Regions from separate parts of the Homo sapiens genome. Here regions 2 and 3 are each linked to region 1. Evidence: promoter capture Hi-C in human tissues and cell types (Jung and others, 2019). All regions are on one chromosome and are shown on one strand. Each heading gives the region's core, a stretch centred on a gene start or on the middle of the fragment in contact. The rest is flanking DNA. Distances are from core to core; before and after follow the strand shown. Region 1 holds the start of STAC2 (SH3 and cysteine rich domain 2). Region 2 overlaps CACNB1 (calcium voltage-gated channel auxiliary subunit beta 1). Region 3 overlaps FBXL20 (F-box and leucine rich repeat protein 20).

Region 1 (3,572 bases), core at 966-3,465:
CACTTAATTAGTGACCAAAGAGGTACTGGCCCCTAAGGAACCCAAAGCCCCTGCTCTTTGGGAGGAGACAGGGGCACCTCCCCCAGAAGATCTCCAAACTCAGAAGAAGGCCCTGTGTGTTCCAGCCCAGGATAAGTGGAGGGCCTGATGTTGCTGTCTCAATGCTGCAAGCATCCCAGCATCTGAGCTGCCCAGGGAGGGAAGGCTGGACTGGCCTGGGCTGGGCAGGAGTGAGAAGGACAGTCCAGTGGGAGATGGGGGAAGGTTGGCCATGAACAGGCCTTTGGGGAGACTGATTTGATGGCACTCAGGCTCCATCCCACCTTCCTCAGGAAATCTCGAAGTCAGAGCCCCTACAACCATGAACCCTCACTGTGCCCTTGTCCTACTTCTGCCACTGGCAAATAAATCTCTATTCCTGGACAGGGTAACCTGAGCAGGGCTCCAATGGTGAGCTCGTGCTTGGGAGGGCAGAGATCCTATGAATGGCTGTGTGCATGGGGGGAGGTGAGTGGGGGGTGGAGGTGTTCACCCCACCCCTCAACTTTCAGGCTAGCATAAGGGCCCCCTTCAGCACCTCAGGCCCCCCATGTGGCACCCCCCACCCACAATCTTACCACCCACAGCAGAGGAGGAGGGAGACTTAAACCCAGAAGTCTCTCCACCCACACCAGGGAAAGGTTCTCTCAGCCACCAGTGCATCTCCCTTTTCTTGGGCAGACCAAGAGAGGAAGCCAGATCTGCTGGTCAGAGCCAGAAGGGGCAGAAGGAAAGAGGGCTGGAGGTGAGGGAGGGGGACCTGAGAAAATGGGTCCCAGATAATCAACATGCATTAGAAGAGGTATCTTGGTCAGGTGTGGTGGTTCACACCTGTAATCCCAGCACTTTGGGAGGCTGAGGCAGGAGGGTCACTTGAGCCTAGGAGTTTAAGACTAGCCTGGGCAACATAGCGAGACTCCATCTCTACAAAAAATTTTAAAATTAGCTGGGTGCAGTGGCATGTGCCTGTGGTCCCAGCTACTTGGGAGGGTTGAGCCCAGGAGGTCCAGGCTACAGTGAGGTGTGATCAAGCCACTGCACTACAGCCTGGCCAATAGAGCAAGATCCTGTCTCCAAAAAAAAAAAAAAAAAAAAAAAAAAAAAAAGAAGAAGAAGAGAAGGAGAAGAAGAAATATTGGAAATATCTTGAACGGGCACAGTGGCTCACGCCTGTAATCCCAATACGTTGGGAGGCCAAAGTGAGAAGATCGCTTGAGCCCAGGAGTTGGAGATCATCCTGTGTAACATAGCAAGACTTGTCTCTACCAATAAATTTTAAAAATTAGCCAGGCATGGTGGCGTATGCCTGTGGTCCCAGCAACTAGAGAGGCTGAGGTGGGAGGATTGCTTGAGCCTAGGAGTTTGAGACTGCAGTGAGTTATGATCGCACCACTGCACTCCAGCCTGGGTGAAAGAGTGAAACCCTGTCTCTAAATAAAAAAATAAAAAAATAAAAAATAGAAGGTTATTGTGGAGAGAGGGGCACCTTGGAAGGTGATGGTGAGGACCTCTTCCCCCACCTCTCTGTATTATCCCCTGATCTAACTCCAGTTGTGGTAGGATCTTTAGGAGGGGAGCGTGTCTCAGAGAAGTTTGGGGACTTTGGGTGTGAGGACTGAGCCCCCATCTCTGCTGAAGTTCAGACGCCAAGACTGGAAGGGGATAGAGTCATCCGGCTTTCCATCACAAGGAGGAATTGTCCGGCCTGGCCTTTGACACATACACCATAGTCCAGTTGTGTGTATATTTGGAGAGAGCCTTTTCAGGGTATAAAGGCATCCAATTAATGGCACAGATGGGTCCCCATTCTTCCTTCACCAACCTCTGGCATCTATCAATCTTCGCTCTTTGGAAGTCCTAGCTTCGATCTCACTCTCCGCTATCTTGCTGCGGCCCCAACCTATTTCTATTCCCTGCAACCCATCCAGACGCTACTATGATCTCCCCAAGCTTCCCTCAATCTGGTCACGCCCCTCCATCCCGGGTTTTTCAGTGTGAAACTCCCTCCTCCGCTTCTTTCCCCGCCAAGCCCCGCCCCATCGTGTCGAGCCCCCCAAGACTCCGCCCAGTTCGCCCTCCTGGCCACCGAGGCAGCCAATAGCTGAGAGCCTGATTTGCAGGGCTGCGCGGGGGAGCGGCGTAGGGCAGGGGGCGGGACCAGGCGACCTCCTAAATCAAAGTTGGGCGGCGAGGACTGGGCGGAGGGGCCGCCGGGTGCCGGGCTGGGGCCGGCGGGGGAGGGGAGGGGATGGGGGGCGGGCGCAGCGGACGGCGGAGCCGGCTGGACACGGACAGCTCCTTGGCTCCCTCCCTCGGCTCATCCCCGCGGCCCCACTTCCCTCCTCCCCGCGCTGCGAGCAGCATCCTCTGCAGACCCTCGGTCCTCGCGCCCGGGGTCGTCCCGCTCCTGCGGCTCAGCGTGGTGGCCTCCCCTCGCCCGCCACCCCGGCAACTTTCTCTGCCCGCTCCCGCGGGTTGGGGGCTGCCGTGCCGGGGGCTAACTGGGGGCAGCCTCTGGAGAACGGCTTCAGAGTCCCGGAGACGCCCGCCACCCGCAGCCTGCCCGCGGTGGGCCTGCCGTCGGATCTCGGCACCCTCTCCTCCCCTCTCCCCGAACCATGACCGAGATGAGCGAGAAGGAGAACGAACCGGATGACGCGGCCACCCACAGCCCCCCAGGGACCGTCTCCGCCCTCCAGGAAACCAAGGTAACTTGGGGGGCGCAAGGCCTGTCCGCGCCCCGGGCCCGGGCGCCCTCTTCCCGGCGGGGTCCTCCTGTGGGCCCGGGCGTCCTAGGGTCGCGGTCGCGAGGCCCGCGTGACCACTGAGGCTCCGCGCCGCTCCCGGGGGTAGGAGTGGGTTGGCGACGAGGGGCCACAAGGAGCCCCCGATCACACCGGCACCGCACGCCCGCGCGCGCCATCGCGACCTTCTGGGGAGGCGGCCACTGGTCTTCGTTGGAGAGATGGGCGCAGCGAGGCCGGAGGGCGCGCGTGGAGCGGTGCGGGCGGGGTACGCGCCCGGCTGTGCGTGCGAGGCGCACCCTCCAGCGGCCGCCGGGTCCCAGTCCCGGGCTCAGTCCGCGCCTCTATCCTCGCTCGTGTCTCTGAATTTGTCTCTACAACCTGCGTGTCTGTGTCTTGGTGTCTCTGTGTGCGTCTCTCCCCGTCTCTCCCGGCGTCTCCGGGTGTTTATCTCCGCGTCTCAGGGCGTCTCTCCCTGCCCCTCCGCAGTCCTGCATTCCCCGCTCCTAGCCCTGTTGGGCTCGGGGACGCGAGGCCGCGGCCGGGGGTGCGCAGCTGCGGAGTCCGCGAGGGGGCCTGCAGCAGCGCCGGCCGTCGGTCACGGGCGAGGACGGGGGCCTGCGGTTGTGGCTCCAGACCAGAAAGACAGGCAGCCCCGCGCCCCACCACGGGAGCGGGACCAGAGGAGGGGGAGCGGGTAGAAGCAAAAAGAGAAGTCATCGTAATTAATGAATGTCATCATTAACCCTAATTATGGATGATTGTTACTCCTGAGGGAGTCACCATGAA
Region 2 (3,948 bases), core at 267-2,766, 33 kb after region 1:
AGGGCAGAAGACAGCACAGAGGAGGGGTCCTCTGGAGATGAGCCCCTCCCTTCCACCTTGGGCCAGGAGCGAGGGTGATGCCAGGCAGATCCACCACTAATTAGAGTGAGGCCCTTCTTTCCGTTTCTTCTGTCTCTACAGCACTTGGCACATGTGAGCCTCAGTCTGACTTGGGAGGTTCAGGAAGGGGAGGCTTCATTCTAGCCTTTTCTAAGTATAGGAACAGACAGGAAGTCCTTTCTTCAATCACCCCCTCATCCCTCCTGTTGCAGGACATGGCCAGGGCTGGGAAGAATGACGCTGTGCTTTTATTGCCCCTCTTGGCAGAAAAGGACCTTGGCTCCTTCAGTGTTTGCCAACCCAGGGAGTCAGACCCCAGCCTCCAATTCTTCCTCCTTTTAGCTCCCCAGCTCTGATCCCCGGTAGGTGGTGGGGAGTGGTGGAGGGGGGCAGTCCTTGCCACATCTCTGAGCTAAATATACCCTAGCAGTCTGCACATGTAGCAACTCTGCTTGTAACCCGAGCCCCCAAGGGAACGGGCAGTTTGGGCCACCCCCTAGGCCAGCAGGGCCAGGCACTGAGGGTGCCGGGATGGAGGCGCCCAGCCGGACCGTGGTGGTGGTGAGCTGGGGATGGAGTGGGGTGGCAGCGGGTAGAACAGCCTCTCAGGAAAGCTGACGGAGGGCAGCCTTTACTCCAGCGTGTCTCCATGCCTCCTCACTGTTTCCTGTCTTCTGCCATTTCTGATGTGTGCGTGTGTATGCGCGTACATGTGTCTGCATATGTGTGTGTATGTGTGCGCATGCCTACATGTGTGTCTGTGTGCACCTGTGTGTCTGCATATGTGTGTGTGTCTGCCCGCACATGTGCGTCTGCATGTGTGTCTGTGTGTGTGCATGTAACTGTGTGTGTATGTGTACACGTGCGCGTGCCTGCATGTGTGTTGGGGTCAGTGAGTGTGTGCGCGCGTATGCCTGCATTTGTGTTGGGGTTGGTGAGTGTGTGTGTGCACGCGCATGCCCGCGTGTGTGTTGGGGTCGGTGAGTGCCTCTCTGCTAGTCTGTCTCCCTGTCTGTTTCCCTGGCTCTTTGACTCTGCGTGCTCCCATCAGGGGGGAGAGGGGGAGCTACGCTGGTTTTCTCTCCTTCTCTCCTTCATGCCTCTTTCCCCACTTCTGTTAGTGACCCCCGCTCCACCCCAACCCTTCCTCCGCGGGTCTCCCATTTTCATTATTTGTCTGGGAAAGAGATGGGCAGCTGCACCAGCTAATGACCTGAGGCCCCTGGGGAGAGGTGGGACTTTGTTTCTGTCTTTCCCAGGTCCCCTCCATGCCAAACTTATGGACCTTCCTGGCCAAGTGACCCTTTTCTGCCCTCAGGAAAGAACCCCTACATCCCTGCAGTCCTCCTCTTTTGCCACATAACCTCCTATGCCTTGTCCAACACCACCCCTGCATAGTCACACAAATCCACACCTCTTGCCTCCTGCCCTCACATGTCCCCCAACCTCAGGGTCACAGATGTCTGGGAGCTCCCCCCCAGTACACTCACATGTGGCTGTACACACACAGTCATATGCAGCCAACTATAGAGCACACCCTCCTCCACACACTTGTACTTGCACATCCACACACACACATGAAGAAGCACGTGCATTCCCACTACCAGGTCTGTACGGGCAACATGTGTCTTACACATATGTGTGCATCCCTAAAGGAGTCCCTTGTGCTCTGGGTTGGTCATTGTGGTCAAAGCCAGCTGTCTGGCACCCAGCAGCCCTCATTTCAGGGAAAGCCCTGTCCCATATCCTGCTCTTAACTTGCCTCTTCGGTCTGTACCAGCCTGGAACTCTTGGGTTCTCTTGTGTCCTAGGAGAGCCTGAGGACTGGGGCTGTAAGTAGTGAAGTTTGATTCTGGCAGTACCAGTTAAGAGGAGCAGGGGAGGTAGGAGTCTGTCTCCCTCTACCCTTGAACAGAAGCTGGCAAAATCTGTGGTGGCCCCATCCTGCGGAGCAGGCCGTCCACGGCTGATAGTGCAGAGAGCTCAGGCCGAAGCTGGTGGCTGCAGTCCCTGGAATGGATGCCACTGGACCTCAGCTGAGTCTATCTCAGCGGGTGCTGGGGGCAGGGGAGGGAAGGAGCAGTGGGAGTAGAGACTCGTCCCTGGCATTCCTCCCTTGCCTTGTGCCCCTATCAGGTTCCCACCCCTCCCTGGGCCCCAAGCAGCTGTCCTTGGGCCTGCCTTCATCTCCTGCTTGCTGCTGTCACCCTCACTAGGGCCACACTTTCCCCAGGGGCCTGAGAAATCTCAGCTCCTGGTCCCTTCCACCTAATACCACCTTGTCTTAGCCCTTGTGGTGTCATGCTGGGCTGGCTGGGGCTCGAGGCATCCATGATGGGTGGCACCTCCATGCCTTCCCAGGCCCAGGAGCTGGGAGGGGCAGCAATGGCCCTGATCTGGCTCTCTCTATTTTCAGGGCTCAGCGGAGTCCTACACCAGCCGTCCATCAGACTCTGATGTATCTCTGGAGGAGGACCGGGAAGCCTTAAGGAAGGAAGCAGAGCGCCAGGCATTAGCGCAGCTCGAGAAGGCCAAGGTGAGAAAGATGTGGGGAGGGGCTGTGCTGGCATGATTTCCCCCAGTCCTGGGCTGTAGAGAGAGCCCAGACAGAACCAGGGCCAAGTCTTGACCCAGCCACTTCCTAGTACCCCTGAACCTTGCTCCTCTGTCCTTCACCTGCACAATGTGGGCTATAATACCTGCCTGCTTATACAGTATAATAAGTATAATAAGTGCGTGTTATTATACTGTTTCCACACATAATAAGGGCTTGATAAGTGCTAAAAATTTCTTTTTTTTGTTTTTTGAGTTGCAGTCTTGCTCTGTCACCCAGGCTGGAGTGCAGTGGCATGATCTCGGCTCACTGCAAGCTCCGCCTCCCGGGTTCACGCCATTCTCCTGCCTCAGCCTCCCAAGTAGCCGGGACTATAGGCTCTGGCTGCCACGCCCGGCTAATTTTTTGTATTTTTAGTAGAGACGGGGTTTCACCATGTTAGCCAGGATGGTCTCGATCTCCTGACCTTGTGATCCGCCCCCCTCAGCCTCCCAAAGTGCTGGGATTACAGGCGTGAGCCACCGTGCCTGACCTGGTCCTGACTCTTAATAGCTGTGTGATCTTAGGAAAGTCACATTAAAAGGAAGATAATAATACCACTTAACTTCAGAGGATTTTTTATTTTTGTGATGAATATAAATGAGAGAATATGTGTTAAGTGTGTAACATGGTACCTGGAACACTAAATGGTCATTACTGTCATTATTGTTTTTTTTAATTTAATTTTAGGCCAGGTGCTGTGGCTCACGCCTGTAATCCCAGCACTTTGGGAGGCCCGGTTGGGCGGATCACTTGAGGTCAGGAGTTCGAGACCAGCTTGGGCAATGTGGTGAAACCCCGTCTCTACTAAAAATACAAAACGTAGCTGGGTGTGGTGGTGTACGCCTGTAATCCCAATTACTCGGGAGGCTGAGGCACCAGAATCGCTTGAACTAAGGAGGCGGAGGCTGGAGTGAGCTGAGATCGCACCACTGCACTCCGGCCTGGGTGACAGAGCGAGACTCTGTCTCAAAAAACATAATAATAAATAAATTTAAATATTTATTATTTTTTATGAGACAGGGTCTCTCTCTGTCACTCAGGCTGAGTGTAGCGGCGTGATCACAGCTCACTGGAGCCTTGACCTCCCATCTCAGCCTCCCGAGTACCTGGAACTATAGAGGCATACCACCACACCTGGCTGATTTTTTATTTTTTGTAGAGATGGGATCTTGCTATGTTGCCCAGGCTGGTCTTGAACTCCTGGGTGCAAGTGATCCTCCTGCCTCGGCCTCCCAAAGTGCTAGGATTACAGGCATGGGCCACTGTGCCCAGCCCCTTTTATTTATTTATTT
Region 3 (3,917 bases), core at 1,184-3,683, 37 kb before region 1:
TGTCCCAGCTACTCAGGGGGCTGAGGTGGGAAGATTGCTTGAGCCCAGAAGTTTTAGGCTGCAGTGAGCTTATAGTTGCACCACTACACTCTAGCCTGGGCAACAGAGCAAGACTAAAAGAAAAAAGAATCAGGTATGACTCAGGATTTTATTTGGATTATACCTAAAATCAACATACGTTATTTCTTTCAGATAACAGATAGCACATTAATCCAACTTTCTATACACTGTCCTCGACTTCAAGTATTGGTGAGTTTAACTTTGAAAACTTTATGTGTTTACTGGGTTTAATCAAAAGCCAGTGCTACAGTTCAAGAACCCAGCTCTTAGTGTCTGGCTACCATTTTAGGAAAGGATGCTTCTTCAAACTGCCAGCTTACTGAGAACCAAAGGAGTACATGAGTGAAGTAGGAAACAGATAAGAACTGAAAAAGTTAAATGTTTTCTATATCAATGCTTGAAGACTGAAAACTGCCTTGGAACATATGAGTTCTCTTTTGTAGATAACTTATACTCCAACCTGAATGATGTTTAAATTTCTAGAGATCCAGGGGATCAGATTGCCCAAAATACAATTTGCTTCACCTTAAGATGTAATGTTACTGGTCGTAAGAATGGAACCAATCAAAGCTTTACTAAGGGGTGTTCTGCTCCTACTTTCAGTGACACTAGAGGAAGGCATTCTGAGTGACTGTTCTGTTGTATCCAGGCTCATTTTTGGTGTTTGGTGACACAGTACTATCTAAAATTGGGTCAAGATTTTCTGAGTTTCCCAGGATCAGGGATTTAATAAATATTGATGAAGAGATGATGAGATGATCACACCTGACAGCTGTAAAAATCTTCAGCTAATTAATTGTTGGGGCATGTCTCTGAACCAGATATTCAATATTTAGTTCAAATTCCAGAAAACTGCATGAAAAGCTTGATTCCCATTTATCCCTGTAGAGAAGGAAAAGTGTTAATTTGAGGAAGGGGTAATTTTTAAGGCTGTCTTATTTTGTTTATGAACTACTTCATAGTCATTACATGAATTTATAAAATATATTTAGAATCACACACCAAAATATCAATCACTGATTGCCAAAAGCATAACCCCACTATCTCTAGTTTTTTAAATTTCACCACGTGGATCTAGTGCCAGCTCCATATTCATCAAAATCAAACCAAAATGTCTCCTTTCCAATTCACACAAGCCTCTGGCTAGAGGAATGCCAGAAGATATTTCAACATCCTTCCTTGCTCTATTTGGCTGCAGAGTCTGTCTCACTGTGAGCTGATCACAGATGATGGAATTCGTCACCTGGGGAATGGGGCCTGCGCCCATGACCAGCTGGAGGTGATTGAGCTGGACAACTGCCCACTAATCACAGATGCATCCCTGGAGCACTTGAAGAGCTGTCATAGCCTTGAGCGGATAGAACTCTATGACTGCCAGCAAATCACACGGGCTGGAATCAAGAGACTCAGGGTAAAAATGGCTACATAACTCTCCAACTCTAGTGTTAGCAGCACTTTCTTCTCTCTTTTTTTTTCCTTTTTTCAAATTTAGGTTCCTATGATTTTTATATTTACTTGAACATTTAACAAGGGAAAGAGAAAAAAGTGCAAACCTAAGGACAGATAGTTTTTCCCTCTGGCTCCAGAGATGGAAATTTAGTAGGAAAAGACCCACTGAAGGGAAGAAAAGTAGGTCTCCTCCCAGCAGAGTCTGTCTAATAATGTCTAGGGCTTAATAACATTCCCAGATTGAAGAAAAAAAAAAAAAAAAGCACATGCCACATTTTTGTTCTAAAGGAAAGAAAGGAATAACAGAGAAAGTGTTTGGTTAAATGGGATTTAAGAATTTAATTTGTAATTGTGTTTCACATTGAGCCCTCTTCCTGGGATTCATATTTTTTAAGGCAACAAGTAAAGTAGACATAGACTTTTACCTTTTCTGTCTTTCTTTTAAGAGATGGGATCTCACTCTGTTGCCCAGGCAGGAGTGCAGTGGCACCTTGTTAGCACACTGCAGCCTCGAACTCCTAGGCTTAAGATCCTCCCACCTCAGCATCCCCAGTAGCTAGGACTACAGGCACACACCACCACACCTAGGTAATTTTATGAAAAACTTGTTTTTTTCATTTTTTAAGACAGGGTCTCCTCTGTCACCCAGGCTGGAGTGCAGTGGCTCGATGTTGGCTCACTGCAACCTCTGTCTCCCAGGCTCAAGGCTTCCTGCCACCCCAGCCTCCCAACAGCTGAGACTACAGGCGTGTGCCATCACGCCAGCCTGATTTTTTGTATTTTTGGTAGAGACGGCATTTTACCATGTTGCCCAGGCCGGTTTCAAACTCCTGAGCTCAAGCGATCTGCCTGCCTTGGCCTTCAGAAGTGCTGGGATTATAGGTGTGAGCCACCATGCCCGGCCTTAAAAAACTATTTTGTGGAGACAAGGTCTTGCTATGTTTCCCAGGCTAGTCTCAAATTCCTGGCCTCAAGCGATCCTCCCACCTCAGCCTCCCAAAGTGCTCGGATTACAGGTGTGAGTCACTGTGCCAGGCCCAGATTTTTACCTTTGCTTTTGGACCTATCCACCATAATAGAGAGACCCAGGTATAGCCAAATAACTAGAAAAAGAAGTTTTTTGTTCTTTTTTTTTGAGACAGAGTCTCGCTCTGTCACCCAGGCTGGAGCGCAGTGGCATGATCTTGGCTCACTGCAAGCTCTGCCTCCCAGGTTCACGCTATTCTCCTGACTCAGCCTCCCCAGTAGCTGGGACTACAGGTGCATGCCACCACGCCCGGCTAATTTTCTTTTTGTATTTTTAGTAGAGGCAGAGTTTCACCGTGTTAGCCAGGATGGTCTCGACCTCCTGACCTCGTGATCCGCCCGCTTCAGCCTCCCAAAGTGCTGGGATTACAGGCATGAGCCACTGCGCCCGGCCGAAAAAGAAGTTTTAAAAAGCTGGATGAATCTGTGTGTTAGATTGTTCTGCTCAACAGATGTTTATTGGAACATCTGCTTCACACCTGCTGTAGGAAAGGCAGTGTGCTTATTCAGGCCCTTAATACCAACCTCTAGGCCAGTCGCGGTGGCTCACGCCTGTAATCCCAGCACTTTGGGAAGCTGAGGCATGAGGATCACCTGAAGTCAGGAGTTCAAGACCAGCCTGGTCAACATGACGAAATGCCATCTCAACTAAAAATACAAAAATTAGCCGAGCATGGTGGCAGGTGCCTGTAATCCCAGCTGCTCAGGAGGCTGAGGCAGGAAAATCGCTTGAACCAGGAGGCGGAGGTTGCAGTGAGCCAAGATCACACCATTGCACTCCAGCCTGGGCAACAAGATGAAACTCTATCTCAAAAAAAATACCAACCTCTAAAAAATCCACGTTGGCCACATGGCCTTGAGCAAATAAAAGAGTACCAAACTTCATCTTGAGTTCGAGTTGGCCTCAGTTCCTCTTCCCCTCTTCAGACATAGAGGACTGTGAGCATAATTGCACTGGGGGTGGCCTTGCAGCCATTTTTTTTCTTCACCAAAGAGAATGAGAGCCACAGGTCAACCAGAGCCTCTTACGTGCCTACTTACATTAGGGTTCCTAGACTGCCTGGCTGCCAGGAGTCTCTTCCATCTCCCATCCTTGGGCGGACCACTTGAGGTCAGGAGTTCGAGACCAGTCTGGCCAACATGGTGAAACCCCGTCTCTACTAACAATACAAAAATTAGCCTTTGTATTTTTAGTAGAAACGGGGTTTCACCATGTTAGCCTGGATGGTCTCAATCTCCTGACCTCGTGATCCGCCCGTCTCGGCTTCCCAAAGTGCAGGGATTACAGGCGTGAGCCACCGCGCCCGGCCCTCAGTTTTATTATTACACAAACAGGTACCAAAGTCATATGAGTTGTTCTGGTCATTGAGAACAACCTAGGA

What was found. Contacts are between HindIII fragments. The study calls those that stand out against the background at their distance.
Region 2: a fragment that was not itself captured here is called in contact with the fragment with the promoter of STAC2 in region 1 in 1 of the 25 tissues and cell types used here (spleen).
Region 3: a fragment that was not itself captured here is called in contact with the fragment with the promoter of STAC2 in region 1 in 1 of the 25 tissues and cell types used here (IMR-90 fibroblasts).

The regions. Positions count from the first base shown.
Region 1 is chr17:39,224,588-39,228,159 of GRCh38, reverse strand. STAC2 (SH3 and cysteine rich domain 2) reads left to right here and starts at 2,215. Exons shown (of 11, transcript NM_198993.5): 1 at 2,215-2,747. The coding sequence starts at 2,658. RefSeq lists an enhancer at 2,457-2,957. The HindIII fragment of the contact is 22,351 bases long and covers 1-3,572 here.
Region 2 is chr17:39,190,122-39,194,069 of GRCh38, reverse strand. It overlaps CACNB1 (calcium voltage-gated channel auxiliary subunit beta 1), which reads left to right. Exons shown (of 14, transcript NM_000723.5): 3 at 2,477-2,596. Among named protein-coding and RNA genes, the nearest start is that of CACNB1, 5.6 kb to the left of the region's middle. RefSeq lists an enhancer at 717-1,217. The HindIII fragment of the contact is 5,691 bases long and covers 1-3,948 here.
Region 3 is chr17:39,261,729-39,265,645 of GRCh38, reverse strand. It overlaps FBXL20 (F-box and leucine rich repeat protein 20), which reads left to right. Exons shown (of 15, transcript NM_032875.3): 13 at 193-249; 14 at 1,259-1,471. Among named protein-coding and RNA genes, the nearest start is that of MIR548BC, 34 kb to the left of the region's middle. The HindIII fragment of the contact is 3,312 bases long and covers 778-3,917 here.